2 separate regions of the Homo sapiens genome follow, and region 2 is linked to region 1. Evidence: promoter capture Hi-C in 16 types of primary human blood cells and fetal thymus (Javierre and others, 2016). All regions are on one chromosome and are shown on one strand. The core of a region is centred on a gene start or on the middle of the fragment in contact, and the rest is flanking DNA. Distances in the headings are between cores, read along the strand shown. Region 1 holds the start of MN1 (MN1 proto-oncogene, transcriptional regulator). Region 2 has its middle 73 kb from the start of LINC01422.

Region 1 (5,623 bases), core at 951-3,450:
AGGGCTCCAGACCCACAGGCATCTTTCTGGCCCCACTGAACCTCTCAAAGAACACACCATGCTGCTGCTGCTGCTGCTGGGGCTGCTGCTGCTGCTGGGGCTGCTGCTGCGGTGGCTGGGCGTGCATTTTGGACAAGCCCACCATGCCCGCAGCTCTGGGCATGGCCGAGGCGCCCGGGAAAGCGCCCCCAGGAACCTGGCGACCCGCTGCATAATGAGGCAGCTGCCCTTCGGAGTCAGAGGGCGAAAACATGTCAAAATGTCCCGAGGGCGCCTCGCCCGGGTAATTGTATTCCAGCGAGTCGACGGCTCCTTGGTTCGTCACCCTCCGTGGCTCCAGACTGTGGGAATCGGAGCCGCTGGAGGACGGCAGGCCGTGGAAGGAGGCGGCTCGGTTAGGGCTCTGGTCCAGCGGCAGGCATGGGGCCGGCACGGCGTGGCTGGAGGCACCTGAACTGTGGAAGTCCGGGAGGTTCCCCGGTCGCTGCGGGCCGAAGCTCTCAGGCCCCTGGCTCTCCGCCATGTGCTCATAGCCCTCGGCGAAGGGCGGCTGGCTGCCCAGGCCTCCGGCTGCGCCGCCGTAGCCGAGCAGGCGACCCCCGTGCAGGCACGAGGCCCCGGGGTCCGGGCCACCGAAGTTGCCCCCAAAGTGGGGGTGATGCTGGTGGGGATGATGACTTCCCGGGTGGCCGTGGTGAGGCTGCTGGCCGCCAAAGAAGCCGTGCACAGGCTGCGCTTGCAGCCCCCCTGCGTGCAACTCCGAGTGGCCGCGCGCGTGGAAGCCGTAGGGCTCCATGTTCATGCCCAAGATCGGGGGTTCGCCCAGCGCGCTCATAGCAGGATCCACAGGGCCAGGGGGCCCCCCAGTGTGGAAAGCCGGGGCCTTAAAGTGGGTGTTCATGCTCAGTCCGGTCTCGTTAAAGTTCCTCTCGCCCTGGCCAGCGTTCCTGCTGTTGACCTGGGGCTCGAATTGGTCCAGCCCAAACATACTTGGCGGGGGGCAGAGGGGGATCAATAGGGCATGACAGCCGGCTCTCCGCGGCGCGCCTCCGGCCAGCTACTCGTTCCAGCCCAGGATTGGGCGCTCCGGGACGCTCAGCACCGCGGGGGCTCAGCGCGCACCTCCACCCCGCCTGATGTGAGGGACGGGGGGCGGGGTATTAGCTCCTCTCCTGAAGCTCCGATTCTGCCCGGGGAGGGCCTCTCACATCTTGCGAGGCCGCGGGGCCTCTAGGAGCCGTGTTGGGGGGCCCATGCCCCGGGCGGTTGTCACAGCCGCGGGTGGGTCTGCGGGGAGGGGACGAAGCCGCGGATGAACGGAGACAAAAAGTTAAGTGGGGGGAATGGGGAGGGAAGGGGGTTGGGAGAGCAGAGCGATCACCTTCTCAAGTCCGATTGGGTCTGCTGGGGAGCCCTCAGGACGCCGCCCGCAGCCTCCCGGAGTCCGTGGCAGAGCTGCTAAGGGCAGGGGAGGGAGACCCTTCAAAGCCGCGGCTGGCGCCGGGCACCGACAGAGCGGTCCCTCCCCCCGCCCCCCGGAGTCCCCGCGCCCCGCAGCCCGAGCCTCCACCGAGCACGATCCGCTCGCACAATCCCCGTAGGCTCCGGGCGAGCGGCTGCTGCTTCTTCAGCGGGTCGGAGGACTGGAGGCTCCGCTCGGCATCGCCGGTGCCGGCCCCCGAGCCGAGGACGCAGAGGGGCTGCGAGGCGGCAGGCGCCGGGGGCTGGAGCCGAGGGTCGGGGAAAGGCGCGGCTCCTCTGCTCGGCAGCGGGTGCGCTGCGTTCGGCGCGCAGCTTCGCGGCCACGTCCGCCGCCTGCCGCTTCTGTTCTCCGCCGTTGGGTGTCTGAGTTCGCCGGAGTCTCCGCGCACCGTTGCAGGCGCGGGAGGGCAGCGAGACGAGGGGTTGGGTCGCTCCAAGGCTCCGGTTCCCTGCCTCCGCGCTGAGGTGCTTCGCGAGTCCCTCTCGGACCTGAGGGAGGGGGGCGTACGCGGGTCGGGGGGCCACGCCGGGCGAGCAGGCTAAGGCGTTCCCGCTGCGCTCTCAGAGCCCGGAATGGGGGGAGGGGGGCGCGGGGGCAGCTCTGGGGGGTCTGCGCACCCCTCTCCCGACTAGCGGGGGGGCTCTGCGTGGGGCGTTCCGAGGGTCTCGGCTCCCCTCTCTGTGTCTGCCTCTCGCCCAGCGCCGGGAGAAGCAGCAACAAGTTTTGCATTTCAGCAATCAATTTCAGCCATTACATTTGCACCAATCAGCGCCGCCCAAGTTCCGGGCTCGGGGCGGGGCTCGCTCTTAAGGTGGTCCGGGGTCCTGGCTGCCGAAGCCCCCGCCACGAACCCGCACTACCCCAGCTCTGGGGTCCCCTGCGCCCGCCTCTCCTCGGGGTCCGGCGTCAGTGCGCTGGGGGCGCGCCCCGGCCTCCGGGCGCATCGAGCTGGAGAGGGTGCAGGCGGAGGAGAATGGCGGGAGCTTGGCTTTGTTCACCCCCTTCCCATTCACACTGTTCCCAACTCCCCACCCCCAACTGGAGCGAGACCCACCGGGTGGGCAGGGGGCGGGGAGGTGGGCGGTGAGCGGTACGGGGCGCTCAGACAATGAGGTCGCCAGGCAAAGACCCTAGACTCGCCACGGAAAGTCGCTAAGTGTCTACTGCACTTCGGCTCCGGGGTGAACACTCCGTTCTCCGCTAGCGGCGCCCAAGTTAGCCGGCCCTGGGATTTTCTTGGAGGGTAAAGCAGACGGGGAACCTCGAAGTTAGGGTTCTCCTCGAGAGACCTGGGCGCTTGCTCACTCCTCCGTCACTAGGGCGTTCACAATTGTTCCCCTTCCCCACTGCCTGGGGTTCCCGGTTCTCACCGGCCGGCGTGGGCTCCAAGGAGTCACAGTCACTCAGCCACTTTATGGGGGAGCACATCGGTTGAGCCCAGTAACCGGAGCGACTTGCGAGGCGGCTGGGAACCCCGAGAAGACACGCACGAAGAGGGCGCACCCGCCGGGCCGCACACCTTGCCCTGGGCCACCCGGTCCAAGACCCAGACCCTCTGCGGGTGCGAAGTTGGCCTCCTTAAGAGATCAATTAAACTGAAGAGGCCGAGGAATGGAATTGGGCTGTGATACTAAAATCAATAGGAGTAATTTAATATCTGCCCTGCTCTTTATGAAATATTTATCCCAATAATCTTAGTTAAAATGTTTAGATCGTCCTGATCCCCACAGAGGCTGAAATCTATCTTGCAATTAGAAGTTGGAAGTTAGAGGTGATGGAGGATAGAGGTGTTTATTCTGTGCGCCTGTGTGCGTGTGCTCGCGCCTGCGTGCGTGTGTTTGTGCATGCGTGTGTGTGTGTGTGTGTGTTCCTCCCTAAAGTGTGTGTAGGGAAGGAGGGGGGAGAAGGCCTTTAATTTTCCTTGCCATAAAATAGCACGAGGCGATTTTGCTAGCAGATTCGCATTCTTAGGAGAAGGGCGAAAAAAGAACTTTCTTTGAAGTGCCCCTGATATCGCTATTAAATCTAAATAAAATTAAGCGTGGTGTATGAAAATGCCTTTCCCCCCCCACAAAAGAAAGTGTTTATCGCCCGAGTCTGTCTAGCGTTTGCTAAATTACGCATGAAATCTGAAATGAAATAAACGTTATAATAAAACCAACCCCTGAGCCCTTTTTATTTAAAAACCTTAGATTAAGCACTCCACCGTCGCGGGCAGGAGTTAAAAAGTTACCATGTCGTACGCGCAGATTCATTGCTCCCCTGAGTTGCGGCTAGGAAGGCAGTGCTAAGTATGCCAGAACCGACATGCCGGGGGTGGGGGGAAATGGGCTCAACTTTGGGGTAGCGGCAGAATTCCTAAGAAATTGCCCCCCGCCCAAAAAAAATTTTAATTAAAAATAAACAAACAAGAAAAAACAACAACTTTAAAACTCAGCCAGAGCAAGCTCAGATCCAAGACCTTTCCCGGGGCCTTCCTGTTGTGGAAGTTTACAGACATATATATTTTTTCTTTTTTGAAATTAAAAATGAAAATTACCCCCATCAAAAATGGGGTCCATAAATAAGCATAGGGAATAAGTATTTGTACAGGGCGGTGGAGTTTTTAAAGGATTTTTCTGCAGGATCAGGTTGTTGGTCTGTGATTAAATATTGATTTTGTGTAATTAGTTTTCATGTGAACTATCCTCTTGCTGATAGCTTAGAGGTTTCAGAACTAGAAAAGAAATGGAATTGGACATGGAAATTATTACTTAGCAAAGTGACAGGGAAGTGAGAGCCAGAGAAAAGACTGAGGCTTTGCTGATTTAGGCACAAAGAAATAAAGGCTTGGGTAGGCCCTCCAGTGACACCCCCCCCCCGCCCGCCCCGGGGCCTAGGACCCTGGGGCTCTGGGGCTCCCGAGACAGAGCAGGGGGGATCTTGAACCTCCTGGACAAAAAGCGGGAGGCAATAGGAAAACCTGGTTGTGAGGAAGAGGCCCCCACATGGGCAAAGGCCTGGGCATAGTCCAAGATACTGGGTCACACACTCAGTCTGCTCTCGACTATGGGTGTCTCCTGAGGCACCTATGAGCCGCCTGTGTTTCTGTGTCTGGAGGAAATAGGGAAAAGTGGGGACCTGTCTGGAGCCTGGGGGTGGGCCAGGAGAGTGGGAAGAATGGCTCACAGGCCTGTCGTCTGGGGAGACCCGGATGGGGGCGTCTGCAGAGCTGAGGCATGACTTCACACAGGGCTGGGTGGGGGTCTCCAGCACACCTGGGCAGGTTTCCTGTGGAATAATTCCGTGTGCTCCAGGGAGGGGGGGTGTGGGAGTATTTTTCTGGGGCTGTTTCCAAGAGTTAGCTCCACAAGGTGTGTGAGTGGCTGAAAGAAGGGAGTGTTTGGACCTGGTGAAGTTTCTGTTCAGGATGTGTGTCTCGGTCACCTTTCTTTAACACTGCAAATGTTGTGCGGGTGTGTGGCACACGTCTGCATTTTGTGCCTTTGCTTGTATGCGGGTGGCGGGGCATCTGCGTGTGTTTCTGTCCATGCCTGCGTCGGCGTTCGTGCATGGATCTTTGGGGGTCTTGGTGCATGTTCTCTGTCTGTCCCCCAACCCCGCATTTCTGTGTGTGTGAGCCACTGCGTTTGTACCTGTGTGTGTGCAGCTGCCTCACCCCTTGCATGCCTGTATCTCTGCTCCAGTGTATCTGTTTTTTCTGCGAGTGTGAGGGCGTGTGCCTCACAGCCTGTGCCCATCTGTGCCCGTGTATGCGCCGGCGTGTGCGCCTCCACAGTGTGGGCACCCCTGCGTGTGCCTGTGTGTGCTTTCGCCCGCAAGGTCCCGCAGTGTTTCTTTGGAACAGACACATTGCCCCCTAGCGCTCAGATGAATTCAAAGTCCCCGCAGGCGCAGAGCCGGGAGCAGTAGGAGCCTCAGGGCCCTCCACCCGCCAGGGCTTTCTCCATCCTCCTCCCTCCCCAGGTCCCCCTCCGGGGGCACTGAGTGTGCTGGCAACGGCCAGAGGAGGCCCTCTGGGCAAGGGAAGGAGGAGACACAGCTGGATGGGGCCCCAGAGCTGGAGAGGGATGTTTTAAGCTGGTGACAAGTGGGGAACTGCCTGGGATGGCCCCCAGAACACTCACCGCTGATATGGAG
Region 2 (5,467 bases), core at 1,577-4,076, 970 kb before region 1:
CAGAAAGGAACCTGATAATGACTAGAATATTATCCTGGCAGGACCGTTCTGAAAATCAAATGAGATCATGGATGGGGAGGTGCCTGGTGCTGGGTCTCACTCCCTGGCAAGTGGGGCCAGGAAGTGAGTCTGCAGAGTCTTTCCCTGATCACTCAAATTGGATGCTCTGAAAGTTTCTGTCCTATTCCCCCTCCCTCTCAGAGATACTCGCTCTGACACTAACAGTTTTATTTCTGGAATGGAGGATCAGGGACAAAGCGGACCCTCTTAGTTCCAGGAGTGCCCATAAATTATGGGAAGATGAGAATATTTTAATACAAACCAAAGAATCTCACGTACAAAGAGCTGCTCTGAGAACGTGTTTTCTTCCCCCTTACTCCCCCTTCCAATTCCCCTGATATTTGGAGCTAAGAAGACTCCTTGGGGAATTTATAACAAGTAGAATATTTAAGGGTAAGGAGCCAGAGGTCTCTTTGGCGTTCACTTTTCAGGGAAGTCACCTCAGAGTGGTATGTACATGAGTGACATAAAAGGAAGGTTGTGCATAGAGAAGGGGAGAATATGCCAAGAATTGTCAATTATGCAAAAAAAAAAATTGCTTGTCCAAAAGAGTGATGTGTCTGGCTTTATTCCCCAGATAGAATTCAGCATTCTGGGCAAGGCCTTTGCCAGACTGTGAGATTTTCTGGAAGCGCCTGTGGCGTGGCTCCTCTGCCTCACCTGTGATGACAGGTCACTGGGTCAGCTGGGGGTCACTTTCCACGTGCTCCATCAGAGACAGCCTTAGGATTTGTGCTTTGACCTATCTCACAGAGATCCTGCTATTCTGATTCCTTTGGTTGGGTGACAGTTTCCAGGAGGGACCTGGATTGGCGACGTGCTATGCCCAGTGCTATGCATGGGAGAAAGATCTCTTCAATGAAGGCATTAGTTATGTATTGGCACAGTTAATGCTGCATAACAAACAGTAATGTAAGCTCAAGAGTATATAACAATATATTTTTTTCTTTGGCTCATAGGTCAGCTGGTTGGTTTTACTGATCTGAGCCAGGCTTGCCTAATCCCAGCTGGGCCTGCTCATGCAAGCTGGTGGGTTGGCTAGAGCTGACTGGTCTAGGATGGCCTCACTTGCATGTTCTATGGTTGACTAGCTGTTGGCAGGGGCGATGGAGGTGACTAGACCCCAGGTCTTGTGTCCCCCAGCAGGCTAGCCTGGGCTTTGCATGGGAGCTTGGAGGGTTCTACAAGAGAAAGTGAAAGCTTGTTAAGACCTAGGTGCAGAACTGGCCTGACGTCACTTCTGCCACATTCTATTGCCCAAGGCAAATCATATGGGCAGCTCAGATTCTAGAGGCGATGAAAAGTCTCCATCCTCCAATGGGCAGAGCTTCAAAGTTACATTGCAATGGGCATGGGGATAGGGAAGGGCAGATCCTTGGGGCTTATTTTTTTCAATCTGTCTACTGAAATGGATAAACAGAAGTAGTTAGTTTCACTGACAAGTATTACTAGCACCTCTGTGTTGAGTCTTATGCTAGGTGCTGGCAGAGGTGGTGAATATGAGACAGTCCCATTCTGAGGGTAAGACACAGACATAGAAATGGATGATTGTGATCCACTGTCAGTGCTGTAATTGGGGAAGCTCAGGCAGCGGTGGGAGACCAGAGGAGGCTCACACACTCCCTGGAGGTCAGGGAAGGCTTCCTGGAGGAGGTCGCTCCTGATCTGAGTCTTGACATTTGAGTGGGAGCTCACAGGGTGAGGGAGGTGGCAAGAGGGGTGACGGGAGGAGGAGAAATCAGTCCAAGAAGAGGAAGCAGTGAGTGCACAAAGGCATGCACGTGAGAGGGACCTGTTAGAGAGAGAGGCCAGGGCATAGAGCAAGGGACAAGGCCTGGCCTAGCTTAGGTCACAATGTCCCTTGGAATTAGGAGACTGTTGGCTTGAGATATCCACCACACCCAGAGCAGGGTTTTGAGGGGTGTTCTGATAAAGGGGTGAGGGAAATGTTGAGCAGAGCCTTATTAATAACAACGAAACCCCTCCAGTCGCCCACCTCCCCCAAACACGAAACATCAGCTGCCAGCCAAGTCTGCTGCGAGCTGGGGTCTCAAGGCAGATATAATCCCTGCTCCCAAAAACCTTACCAGGTCTCAGAGACATGCGTCAGCTCCTCAGCTTTCCAGGGTCTGCAGGAAAAGTGAGGAGCAGCTCTTGATGGCCACTAACCCGTAGCCCCACCACAACCCACCCTGCAGATCCCATCACTCTGCAGATCCCATCATCCTGCTTCCTTTCCTTCCCTGGGATTAGATACACCTGAAATTGTTGTTCTCTCTGTTCACTTTGTCCCCAGCCGACTCCCCCAGGCACCTCCTGAGATGTTGGGCTCCATCAAAGTGGCCACCATGTCTTTTTGTCCTTCATCTCGGTTTCTTTAGTACCCGAGTCAGCACCTGGGCATGATGGGTGCCGAAACTGTCTTGGCAGAGTAAAGGACAGGCCAGCTCCCTGCAAGATGCTGAGCAAGCCATGTGCTCTTTCTGAGCCTCAGTTTGCACATCTGTAATTCGGGGATGTTGTACAGCAGCCAATTCTGCCACTATTTTCTGAGATCCTGCTTGCAGCTGGACCCTGGCTTAATATACTGGAGAGAATTTCCAGGAGAGATTCTGACCCACGGATTTTCTTGCCTGTGGACAATTGTCAGAATTCTCCACCTTCTAGGGTGCGAGGATGGATTATGGAGAAATGGACATAAAGCAGGTGGCAGGAAACTTACAAAGGGGAGGCATTTCTGTCTGACTTCACATTTCCCATCAGCGGGGCCTTTTTTTTTTTTTTTTTTTTTTTTTTTTTGACAGAGTCTCGCTCTGTCACCCAGGCTGGAGTGCAGTGGTGCAATCTCGGCTCACTGTAACCTCCACCTCCTGAGTTCAAGCGATTCTCCTGCTTCAGCCTCCCAAGAAGCTGGGACTACAGGCGTGTGACACCATGCTTGGCTAATTTCAAAACTTTCTGCATCCTGAGGGGCATGCCCAAGTTTACCTGTGCTCACAGAGGAAGGAGGTGTACAAACCCACATGGGAGTTATTTTCCAGTGTGATTGACACTCCACACCCATCTAAGTGCGGCTGGCATGGAAGTGGTGGCCCCGCAGGCAGGACCCATCCTTATCTTTGCCTGGGAGCTTTTTAAAAGGTTACCAGACACCCACTTCCACTTCCCCCCCTTAAGCTCTGTTTCTGAGTCTCTTTTATTTGAATCCAGGGAAACTAGCTGAATGTAAAGCCATCAAAACCAAAGTGACCCGAGATGTCCGATTGGCCCATATTGGCCAGAAAATGAGTATTTCCCAGCTTCCAGGAGGGTCTGTTTGCCCCAACATCCTGAAACCTCAACCCCCTCCTTCCCCAGGAAAAGGAAGGAGCAGCTGGCTCAAATTGCTCCCCCAAATTCCTGGCCTGGCAGTGGTTAAAATGTGATCCCTTTTATTCGAGTAATAGAGAGGAAGTTCCCGGGCCTTCAAGAAGCATCAATCCAGAGATTTATTAACCAATTTAAAATACTATTGTCTTTCACTTCAGAGCAAGATTGAGGGGTGTTGTTGCAGGAATGTAAAGTCAGAGTGACTGAGCCTCAGAGCCAGGAGGGGTCTGTACCTGGGACTCAATAGATATTCATGAACATTCCCGTATTTAGTGAAGGAAATAACTTAATACCGACAGTGCGATGGAATAATAGCTATTTCCTGGCTGACTTGCAGGCCTCAGAAAATGAGATTGCAGTGGCTTCATTTTTCTTGTCTTTTCCTGTGCTCCCTGCCAGAGAAGGAGCTGCCACTGGGATTCTCTCTGCATTTGCAATGAGCTGGGGCCTGCAGCCCCCACCCAGGCCTGGTGACTCCCTTATCACCCCTTCTATTTGCTGTGACCTTGGCCTCGGCTTCATGGAGAGGTCACCCTGCACCCTGTTTAGCTGTACAGATGACCAGGAAAGTAGATCAACCTTTATTCAGATGGAGGGGCAGGCAGACTGGTTTATTTGAGGATGATTTTGACATTCATCCACTCATTCATTCACTCAGTATTCACTGAGGGTCTACCTATCACACTCTGAATGCTGAGGACACAAACATGAATACTGTCCAGTCCTTCTCTCTTGCAACTTGGTCCACTGAAAGAGCCACACACTAAAGCATTTCAGGGACCCCTAGAGGTGTCCACACAAGGCTTAGAAAGCCTCAGAAAAAAACGAGATCGTGATACTTAGAAAGACAGAAGATCAGGAATGACATCAGCAGGGACATGCCTCTTAAAAGTTGCCAAGGTCTGATTCATCAAAAGACCACCTGCCAAGCACTTTACCCGCTTTGTTTCATTTGGATCTCATAGAAGCTTCATGATGTGCACTTTGTCGTTCTCCCCATTTTATAGGTGATGAGATGAGGCTCATCCAGATGCATTGGCTTCCCCAAGGTTAACCGGCCAGAAAGCGGCAGGGTCAGGATTTGAGCCCGTGTTTGTTGGATTCTGATTCCGGGCTCTGGAGGGCCTCAGTGTCCTGCTGGTCTTTGCCCAGGTGGTAGGTGTAGGGAGGGTATTTCAGGCAGTGGGCACAGCCTGGGTAAAGGCACAGAGATGTGGAATGGTCGACCTGATGCTTTGGGGGACTCTAAGTGGTCACTTATGGGTTGATGGCAAGATGGGAGTGGGTGCTGGGGCACAGCTGAGTGGAAACCAGGGTAGAGAGAGGTGTAGAGGGGCGTCCTGAGGAGTTTGGACCTGAACTGGTAGACAAAAGGGGGAACTAATGAATGATTTTAGCTTGGAGACAGGGGAGGCTCTATGCACGATATAATCTGGCCCTCCAGACTGATCTCCATCCTTCACCATCCAGCCCTGAGCCCAGGAAACTGATATGCGTGGACCAGGTCAACAGATTCTCTCTGGCTCTGGCTGGGTTCCGCCAATGAGGATCCCCAGCAGGAGATCAAAGGAGAGGGAGAGGAAGGGCAGGGGTTCATCCTCTGGTTTCCTGGGCTGGCTGTGGCCTTTGACTGAAGGTCATCAAAGTGATCTAACCCCACTCTCCCTCCTTCTAGGTTATGGTAGCCTCCCTCTCCCCTCATTCAGGCCTAAGCCGGGGAAGTAGCTCAGCTGCTTCCAGCCAAGGTTATCTCCATTCCACCCACACCTTTGGAATGAGTCCCTTTGTAAATAAACTCTCCTCCATTGACCTTAACTTGAGAGTGCCACCCATTTCCCTCCGACCCACATAGCTCCTTTGGGCCATCTTACGTGCAAGTCAGAAATCTCAAGATCAAGGTGTCCAAAGGACCAACCACATTCCTTCTGGCGGCTCCAGGAAAAGAACCTTGCCTTTTCCAGCTTCTAGAAACACTCCTTGGTTCATGACCCCTTCCTTCAGCTTTAAAGCCAACAGGGTAGCATATCCCAGTCACTCC

What was found. The method cuts DNA at HindIII sites, captures the fragments that hold promoters and counts their contacts. A CHiCAGO score of 5 or more calls a contact.
Region 2: a fragment that was not itself captured here is called in contact with the fragment with the promoter of MN1 in region 1 in 1 of 17 cell types (M1 macrophages); the score reaches 5.7 in M1 macrophages.

Annotation. Positions count from the first base shown.
Region 1 is chr22:27,799,556-27,805,178 of GRCh38, forward strand. MN1 (MN1 proto-oncogene, transcriptional regulator) reads right to left here and starts at 2,201. Exons shown (of 2, transcript NM_002430.3): 1 at 1-2,201. The coding sequence starts at 988. RefSeq lists enhancers at 1-267, 4,610-5,174, 5,175-5,623. The HindIII fragment of the contact is 19,591 bases long and covers 1-5,623 here.
Region 2 is chr22:26,827,237-26,832,703 of GRCh38, forward strand. No RefSeq gene overlaps it. Among named protein-coding and RNA genes, the nearest start is that of LINC01422, 73 kb to the right of the region's middle. The HindIII fragment of the contact is 3,137 bases long and covers 1,259-4,395 here.